Linked DNA regions of Homo sapiens: region 1 is linked to region 2. The links are contacts of gene promoters, found by promoter capture Hi-C in human tissues and cell types (Jung and others, 2019). All regions are on one chromosome and are shown on one strand. The core of a region is centred on a gene start or on the middle of the fragment in contact, and the rest is flanking DNA. Distances in the headings are between cores, read along the strand shown.

The links. Contacts are between HindIII fragments. The study calls those that stand out against the background at their distance.
Region 1: a contact is called between a fragment that was not itself captured here and the fragment with the promoter of THRSP in region 2, in 2 of the 25 tissues and cell types used here (dorsolateral prefrontal cortex and mesenchymal stem cells).

Annotation. Positions count from the first base shown.
Region 1 is chr11:78,287,657-78,292,302 of GRCh38, reverse strand. All of the region lies in intron 1 of GAB2 (GRB2 associated binding protein 2), which reads left to right. Among named protein-coding and RNA genes, the nearest start is that of USP35, 100 kb to the right of the region's middle. RefSeq lists an enhancer at 1,746-2,040. The HindIII fragment of the contact is 5,361 bases long and covers 621-4,646 here.
Region 2 is chr11:78,062,383-78,067,388 of GRCh38, reverse strand. It overlaps THRSP (thyroid hormone responsive), which reads right to left and starts at 3,528. Exons shown (of 2, transcript NM_003251.4): 1 at 3,048-3,528. The coding sequence starts at 3,507. The coding sequence ends at 3,067. The region is part of intron 1 of NDUFC2-KCTD14 (NDUFC2-KCTD14 readthrough); the gene reads left to right. The HindIII fragment of the contact is 6,211 bases long and covers 1-4,601 here.

The sequences.
Region 1 (4,646 bases), core at 2,052-4,551, 230 kb before region 2:
TGGAAGAGGCTTTTGCGAAACTCCTGGAATAGGCGTGTCCTTTTAACTTCCCGCTTTCTGAAGAGGGTAAAACCAAAAACTGCCAGTAAACCTAGAGAATCCTATGAAGTGAGGTTTATGGTTAATCTGAATCTAACTGAGGTTACTGGGTGATACCTATAATTTAAACCTGTTAGGCGGGTATATGAAGAACATAACAGTTGTATCTTCAAAAAGCTCTTTGCCTTATTTTTTAAAAATTCACCAATAACAAAGACTGACTCTCTCTCTCTCACACACACACACACACACACACACACCCCTACACACCTCTTAGTGAAGCTCCCAGGTGGAGATGTGGTTATTCAGAAGAACACATCCCTCTGTTCTAAGAATCTGAGTAATCTGATTAAATGAGGTGTTACCATATCATGTTTTCTTAGTTAAAAAATACATAAGGGGCTGGGTACAGTGGCTCATCTGTAATTCCAGCACTTTGGGATGCTGAGGTGGGAGAATTACTTGAGCCTATGAATTTGACATTAGCCTAGCCAGCATAGTGAGACTCCATCTCTAAAAAAAAAAATTAACTGGGTATGATGGCGCATCCTGTGATCACAGCTAAATGGGAGGCTGAGGTAGGAGGATCGCTTGAGCCTAGGAGGTCGGGGCTACAGTGAGCCATGTTTGCGCCACTGCACTCCCGTCTGGGCAACAGAGGGAGACCCTGTCGCAAAAAAAAAAAAAAAAAAAAAAAAAAAAGAAAAAGAAAAAAGTAAGTCTCTCAAGATAGGGGAGAATAGACCTTAGGTAGTCTCTTGTCCATCTATTGATCTACTCTTTTTTTTTTTTGAGACAGAGACAGAGTCTTGCTCTGTTGCCCAGGCTGGAGTGCAGTGGTGCGATCTCCGCTCACCGTAAGCTCTGCCTCCCAGGTTCAAGCCATTCTTCTGCCTCAGCCTCCCGAGTAGCTGGGACTACAGGTGCTCGCCACCACGCCTGGCTAATTTTTTTTTTTTTTTTTTTTTTGTCGTTTTAGTAGAGACGGTTTCACCGTATTAGCCAGGATGGTCTCAATCTCCTGACCTCGTGATCTGCCTGCCTCGGCCTCTCAAAATGCTGGGATTACAGACGTGAGCCACCACGCCCAGCCTTGATCTACTCTTTGAGCCCTTCTTCTGTCACACTCCCCAACCTTCCCACCCTTTGTTTAGGCCAGGAGTCAACAAACAAATCCTGCCACCACTTCTTTTTCTAAGCAGTTTTATTGGAACACAGCCATGCCTGTTTGCTTATGAATTGTGTATGGTTGCTGTCATGCCACTATAGAACTGAGTAGTTATGACAGAGAAAATATGACCTGTAAAACCCAAAATATTTGCTAACATCCTTAACAAAGTTTGCTGATCCCTCACCTTGCCTCTTTCTTCAAAATCTCCAGTGTTGAGTATTCTCCAGTTTCCAAGAGACCTGCTTTGGACCACTCATTTAGAAAGTTCTTACGTTCTAAAAAAAATAAAATTTGGTTTTCCGTAGACTGCTCCTGCTGGTACTTGTTCAACTTGAGTATGTTGAGTAACTAAAAATAAATCAAATCGCTCTTCCACATATTGGCGGCCCTTTATATCTTAGAACAACACTATGATCATGACTCCAGGCAGAATCTTGCAGAATCCTGGTGTGATAAACTTTCACGGGCCTTCATTGTCACCAGAAGGGAGCATAACACTCTTGCACAGCTAAATTGTGGCCCACCTAGGTTTTCTGGGCGCCAAGAGCAATAAGAGGAAGTTATAGCCTCATTCTACATGCTTGAAGACCTTGAGATCTAACCCAAAGGATAGAGACAGGTTCATGTGACATGTACTGTCTGTTCAACAGCTAGGAGTGATGCAACTTCCAGGTCATATGTACCCACACTTTGTGGTCTTGATGGTTGTGAAATGGTTTGTTTTCTGACAGAAGGAAAACAGTCACTTCTATTTCATCAGAGATGGGAGTGGCATACCCTTGATCCTAGACACAAATTCTTTTTTCCAACTTTCTTGACAGTAGACCCTATCCATATACTTCTTTAAGCCCCACTGTTAAGTAAAGTGACTTTCATTGTCTTTTGTCTCCGTTATTACTACCCTAATTTAGATTGCCATCTTCTCTCACCATTGCAGACTATCGCAACAGCTTCTTAATTGTTTTCTTGTCTCTTATTTTTTATTTTTCTGGTTTGTCTCCCGCACTTTGCCAGATGAGAGCACAGCATTGGTTAACATTTCTCTGCTGATCTATACTCTTCAATGGCTCCCCGTTACAAATAAAGGAAAGATGAAACTTCTTAGGGTGGCATTCAAGGCTTTTCAGGACCTCCAAACTCTTCCTTTCCTCCCTCTTTTCCATATTGAGAAGACTGTGCCATATTCTCTGAACCTATTTTATCTGTTCCCATGCCCAGGCCTTGGTCATTGGTCATACTGTATGTTGTATTTAAAAAAAAAAAAAAAAAAAAAAAAAAGGTCCTGTTCTTCCTTTCCAAAACCGCATATCAAACCCTACCTTCCTCATTGTTTGTGTTCATTGCTCCTTCTCTCTCGTGCATGTTTGCTTTCTCTCATGCTGTTTCTCTCTCTTAACCCTGAAAGTTTGATTCCCTGCTTCAGTGGTCTACTAGCGTATTATGTCTTTTTTTATGGTGCTTACAAAAAAATCTTCTAGTTTTAGGGATATATATTAATGTCTTAACTTCCTGAAACTTTGTAAATATTGTAAGTTACTTCAAAGGAGTATTTTTGGGCCTTGCCTCTTTATCTGTCAAAGCATTCAACACATTTTGTGTTTGTTTTTACTGAATTCTATACAAGGAGCTTGTTGATTTCTCATGAAATGTACCTTAGATCCCAAAGATTTTCACCTTTTTTTCTAAACGTTTTATAGTTTTACATTTTACGTTTAAGTCCATGATTCATTCTGAGTTAGTTTTTGTATAAGATGTGAGACTTAGATTAAGGTCTTTACTCCCCTATGGATGCTTGATTGCTTTGGCACCATTTCTTGAAAAGGCCTTTTCTTTTCTTTTTTATATTAAAATTTTTAGTAGAGACAGGGTTTTGCCATGTTGGCCAGGCCAATCTCGAACTCCTGGCCTCAAGTGATCCACCTACCTTGGCCCCCCAAAGTGCTGGGATTACAGGCACGAACCATGACAACTAGCTGTTTTCTTGATTGAATTGCTTTTACACGTTTGTGAAAAATCAGTTGGGCATATTGTGAGGGTCTGTTTCTGGGTTTTCTGTTCTAATCCATTGTTCTTCACTTGATCTTAGCCAAACGGCCAAGAATTGATCTATTCCACTTTTCTGTGTCTGTCTCTTCGCCAGTGCTACACAGTCTTGATTGTTGTAGCTATATAATAAGTCTTAAAATCTGGCAGACTGATTCTTCCCATTTTATTTTTCAGAATTATTTTAGCTATTGTGCTTCCTTTGCCTTTTCATATACATTTTAGAACAATCTTACGTACATCTACAGACATTCTTGTGGGATTTTGATGGGAATTGTGTTAAATCTGTACGTCAGTTTGGGGAGATGCACCAAGTCGAGTTGTCCAATCCATGAATATGGTATGTCTCTTCATTTATTTAAGTCTCCTTTGATTTCTTTCATTAGCTTTGTATAGCTTTTAGCATACATGCCCTGCACAGCGATTTTTTTAGATTTATACCTTTTCAATTTTTAAGAACAATTATAAATGGCATTGTATTTTTATTTTATATGCCTGCATATTCATCGCTAGTTAGAAGTAAATTGATTTCTGTATGATTATCTTGTATCCTGTGACCTTGCTGAACTCACTTATTCGTCCTGAGAGTTTTGTTGGGTTTTGTTGTAGATTTTTTGTGTTTTTTCTTTTTCTTTCTTCTTCTTCTTCTTCTTTTTTTTTTTTTTTTCTTTGAGATGGAGTCTCACTCTGTTGCCCAGGCTGGAGTGCAGTGGCACCATCTCAGCTCACTGAAACCTCTACCTCCTGGGCTCAAGCAATTTTCCTGCCTCACCCTCCCTAGTAGCTTGGATTACAGGTACCCACCACCATGCCTAGCTAATTTTTGTATTTTAGTAGAGATGGGATTTCACCATGTTGGCCAGGCTGGTCTTGAACTCCTGACCTCAAGCAATCCACATGCCTCGGCCTCCTAAAGTACTAGGATTACAGGCATGAGCCACTGTGCCCAGCCACGATTTTTCTATATAGATAATCATGTCCTCTGCAAACAGGGACCATTTTTTTTTCTTCCTTTCCAATCAGTATACCTTTTATATATGTTTTTTGCTTTATCACCTTGACAAGAACTTCCAGCAATATGTTGAATAAGAGTGATAACAGTGGCTGGGCACGCTGGCTCACACCTGTAATCCCAGCACTTTGGGAGGCCAAGGCAGGTGGATCACTTGAGGCCAAGAGTTCAAGACCAGCCTGGCCAACGTGGTGAAACCCCATCTCTAATAAAAATACAAAAATTAGCCAGTGTGGCAGTGCACACCTGTAATCCCAGCTACTTGGGAGGCTGAGGCACAAGAATCACTTGAACCCAGGAAGCGGAGCTTGCAGTGAGCCAAGATTGTGCCACTGCACTCCACCCTGAGCAACAGAGTAAGACTCTGTCTCAAAAAAAAAA
Region 2 (5,006 bases), core at 2,279-4,778:
GCACTTTGGGAGGCCAAGGTGGGTGGATCATTTGAGGTCAGGAGTTCGAGATCAGCCTGGCCAACATGGTGAAACCCTGTCTCTACTAAAAGTACAAAAATTAGCCAGGCATGGTGGCGTGAGCCTGTAATCCCAGCTACTCGGGAGGCTGAGGCAGGAGACTTGCTTGAATCTGGGAGGCAGAGGTTGTAGTGAGCCAAGGTGGCGCCACTGCACTCCAGCCTGGGTGACAAGAGCAAGACTCCATCTCAAAAAAAAAAAAAAGGTTGGGTGCGGTGGCTCACGCCTGTAATCCCAGCACTTTGGGAAGCCGAGCGGGGAGGATCACAAGGTCAGGAGATTGAGACCATCTTGGCCAACATGGTGAAACCCCATCTCTACTAAAAATACAAAAAATTAGCTGGGTGTAGTGGCGTGCACCTGTAGTCCCAACTACTCGGGTGGCTGAGGCAGGAGAATTGCTTGAATCGGGAGGTGGAGGTTGCAGTGAGCTGAGATCGCGCCACTGCACTCCAGCCTGGCAATAGGGTGAGACTCCATCTCAAAAAAAAAGTTGTCTAGGATAATACAGAAGTCAATGGAAGAGCCAGAACAAGAGCCCAGATTTTTAACTGTTGCTATACCATATTGCCTCTGAATGAAAATCAGGTTAGGGTGTGTTGAAACGTTATGGCGTAGAGTTGCTGCTCTGGCCTTTGAAGCAACTGAGTGAGTCAGAGTGTGGTTTCTACCCACTCTGCCATGCCCAGTTCCCACTTTGAGCCCACTCTGCAAAAGTCTAAGGCTCTAAGGAATACCACTGTAGAGGAAAAGAATTAGACTAATTAGGCCAGGGTTCACATCTTGGCTGTTATTTACTGAGTAAACTTGGACTCATTTTACTTCTCAGGCCTCCAGTTTTCTCATCTGCAAAAGGGAATGATAGGCTGGGCGCGGTGGCTCATGCCTGTAATCCCAGCACTTCGGGAGGCCGAGGCAGGTGGATCACGAGGTCAGGAGTTCAAGACCAGCCTGGCCAACATGGTGAAACCCGGTCTCTACTAAAGATTTTAAAAAAATTAGCTGGGTGTGGTGGCACACGCCTGTAATCCCAGCTACTTTGGAAGCTGAGGAAAATCTCTTGAACCTGGGAGGTGGAGGTGGCAGTGAGCTGAGATTGCACATTGCACTCCAACCTGGGGGACAGGGTGAGACTCCGTCTCAAAATTTAAAAAGGTGGGGGGGGATGATAATTCCATTAGATAATGGATATGCAAAGTGATCTTAAAACTATTCAAATGCCAGTTGTTAGTTTTACAACCACTGTTATTATTCAGTGAAGAAGCTGAAACCCAGAGAAATGAATTAGCTTGCCCAAGGCCCCACAGCTCATTAGTGATAGAATCAGAACGTGAACCCAGAGCTGTTGACACAGCCCCATCTAATTCAAGAAGAACCTCTGTGAGGCAACTCAGGGAGCCTCAACGGGAGAGGGAAGAAGGGTTGAGGTTGACAGTTTGGGTTTGAAGCGGGAGAAGGAAAAATGGCTGAGAAAATGCCTGGAGCAGAGCTCTCCATAGGCTCTGTGTTTGGGGGTCCCATGTTTATTCCGCATAATTACAGAGCAGCCTTCACACAGATTATGAAGATAACACAAAATGGCAGACAGTGGGTACGATGGAAAGAACACTCAGCTCAAAGTTGAGGCCAGTCTTACTTTTGTCTCCTTACTGTGTGACTTTGGGTGAGTCACTTCACCTCTCTGGCTTCAATTTCCATACTAGTAAACTGGGGATGAGAATCTTTTCCTACATAGCTGCATCAGGTGGTTTTGAGATTGCAATGGACGTGGATGTTGTTTACAACTAATGAGACCAGTTTGTGGGAGCAGGGCTGGCAGGTGGCACAGAATCAAAACTGGCAGGTGCTGTGGTCCAATTTCTATTAATACTAGTCTTTATCCATGAGTGAACTAGTGGTGACCATGCTAGGGCCCCTTCCCACCTCCTACCCTCTGCCACCACCTGCTTGTCTAGCTTGCTGCTCATCCACACTCACCACCCCAGCCCCTCTGTGCATAGACATGTAGGCTTAGACTGGAACACATATTCATATGTACATACAACAGGGCTTCCCAACAGGCATGTCTGCATACTCCAGTTTGCCTGGAATGGATTAGAGTGCCATGACTGGTCCCTCGGCTTCCCGTTTGGTGGGTTCCAACCTGGGATGGTCAGAGTACCCCCAGCCTGTTGTAGCAGTACTGCAAGCAGCCTCACCTATGTATCCCCATGTGCCATATAATAATTTTCCATGTTCTGTGACTTGAAAAAATGTTGGGAAACACTGTCACACAAATGGAATTCACAATGTTCACTTAAATCAATGTGCATGCCTTAGGTAAGTTTTTTTTTTTTTTTTGAGATGGAGTCTCCCTCTGTCACCTAGGCTGGAGTGCAGTGGCACAATCTCAGCTCACTGCAACCTCTGCCTCCCAGGTTCATGCCATTCTCCTGCCTCAGCCTCCCGAGTAGCTGGGACTACAGGCACCCACCACCACGCCCAGCTAATTTTTTGTATTTTTAGTAGAGATTGGGTTTCACCATGTTAGCCAGGATGGTCTCAATCTCCTGGCCTCATGATCCGCCCGCCTCGGCCTCCCAAAGTGCTTTGGTGTGAGCCACCGCGCCTGGCCCCTCTTCAATTAAATTCTTAACAAAGTCACTGATGAGAACACACTCATTCAATTCACACATTTACAAGCATTCACATACTAATAAATGCACACATGCACAAACACATATATGTGCATATGAGATATGCCCTCACAGGCCACTTTTCCCTCTGTTTCCATATCACTTCATTGCAATTGCCAATTTGAGGTCAGAAGGATAGTAACACAGGCCTAGTCTTAGGCCCTCCTAGGTTGTGGTCCCAATACCCTGACCCAAGAGTGGCTCTGTCTGAAAGTCAGGCTGTTCCTCTCCCAGTGGGTTGCACCACTGCCCCCTCTCCTCTCCTGGAATGTCCCTTTGTAGACTCACACCCACCAGCATGGCCACCATTACCTTCCCTAGTGTCCAAGGTCTACCAAACTTGTCCCGTCATTTCCTGGTATTTCCTTGTCACCTCCTGGGCTTTCTCGGTGAGGTGCATGAGGATGTGATGGAGGCTGGAGAAGTGCAGGTGGAACTGGGCTTCCAGGTCCAGCTCTCCTGAGGCACTCTCGTCCTCGACTTCCTCTGTCTCTGCGGTTCCATTCTCTTCGCTGCCTGCCACCTTGGCCTGCCACTCCTCCCGCGGCAGCAGCCCATGGTCCACATCCACACAGATGGCCTTGAGCATGGTGAAGTAGGTGTAGAGATCAGGGGCCTCAGCCTGGGCCTGGCCCCCAGGCCCACTCAGCTGCACGTCCCGCAGAAGGCTGGGGATCATCACCACCTGCTCCATGTTGTGCACCTCGGCTGCATACCGGTCCATGACGGTCAGCAGGCAGTTCTTGGGGTAACGCTTGGTTAGCACCTGCATGGTTGCTTCCTCTGACACAATGAGACCAGCAGACTGCCCCCGCACTATTTCTAGGCTCTCGGCAGATTGACAGGATGCCAATGCCCAGCTGTTGGGTCAACACAGCCCTGTTTTGGGCCAATCCCAGGGCTCAGGCCCCAGCATCTGTATCAGGTGATCCATCTGCCCAGAGACAGATCTGCCAGCCTTCTACTTGTCATCCCAGCTCTGCATGACTGCCCCAGCAAGAACCCGACTCTTCCTCTGTCAGCTTGCTGAGCCAGTTGGAAGGAAGCTTTTCCCTTTGGCAACTGGTATACTGGACTTCAGGGCAATAAATAATTCTTTCAGGTCACTGGAGACCAAGCTGTCTCTTTGCTGCCTGCTTAGGGCAGCCCTCCAAAGCACAGTTCACTCCTTCAACCTGGGGTGACTCCATTGTGAAATGGAGAGGATTTGAAGTGAAACAGCTTGATGTGGGGCAAGGAACACTGAGGTTGGAGTCAGAAGCCCAGTACTGCAATTTCCTAGCTGAGTTTTTTTTTGTTTGTTTTTTGCTGGCTAACATTTATTGAGCACCTACTGCACATCAGGGTCTGCTGAGCTTTTTCGTGAGTGATCTCATTTAATCTTCACCACAACCCTTGTAAATGTTTTATTTATTTAATTTTTGTAGAGATGGTCTTGCTATGTTGCCCAGTCTGGTTTTGAACTTCTGGACTCAAGCAATCCTCCCACCTCAGCCTCCCAAAGTGCTGGAATTGCAGGTGTGAACCACCAGTATTCCTGTTTTGCCAGTGAGGAAATTTAGGTGCAGACAGCTAAAGTAACTTGCTCAAGGTCCCACTGGGGCTGGGATTCCAGCCCAGGACCACCTCTACCCACCTCCAGGCAGTGCTGTGGACTGACATGAGGTTACATAGTCATACAAGTTAACCAGATCCATATCCTCTGTAAATTTGAGGTGGTGTGAGGATTGAATAAGACAAACTAATAAAAATGCTTTGTATCAGTCCAGACAAGCGGCTGGGATCAAAAGAGGAAAAAAAATGCTTTGTAAACCACAAAGCCCAATCCTCAGATGTATTATCTATGCAGATTCTAGATTATTGCTAAGGCTTCTCCCAAATCTAACCAGTCATTCCATAAGCTACAATGCTTCCACTTTATTACTGACCTTTCCTTGGACCAGCAGTCTTGGAAGATAATAATCTTTTGCGTGGTCATATTGTCATAGTTTACAAACTGCATTTGCTATATATTTTTTATTAGATATTTAAGAAAATGGCCGGGCGCAGTGGCTCACGCCTGTAATCCCAGCACTTTGGGAAGCCCAGGCGGGTGGATCACGAGGTCAGGAGATCGAGACCATCTTGGCTAACGTGGTGAAACCCTGTCTCTACTAAAAATACAAAAAATAAGCCGGGCGTGGTGGTGGGCGCCTGCAGTCCCGGCTACTCGGGAGGCTGAGGCAGTAGAATGGCGTGAACTCAGAAGGTGGAGCTTGCAGTGAGCCGAGA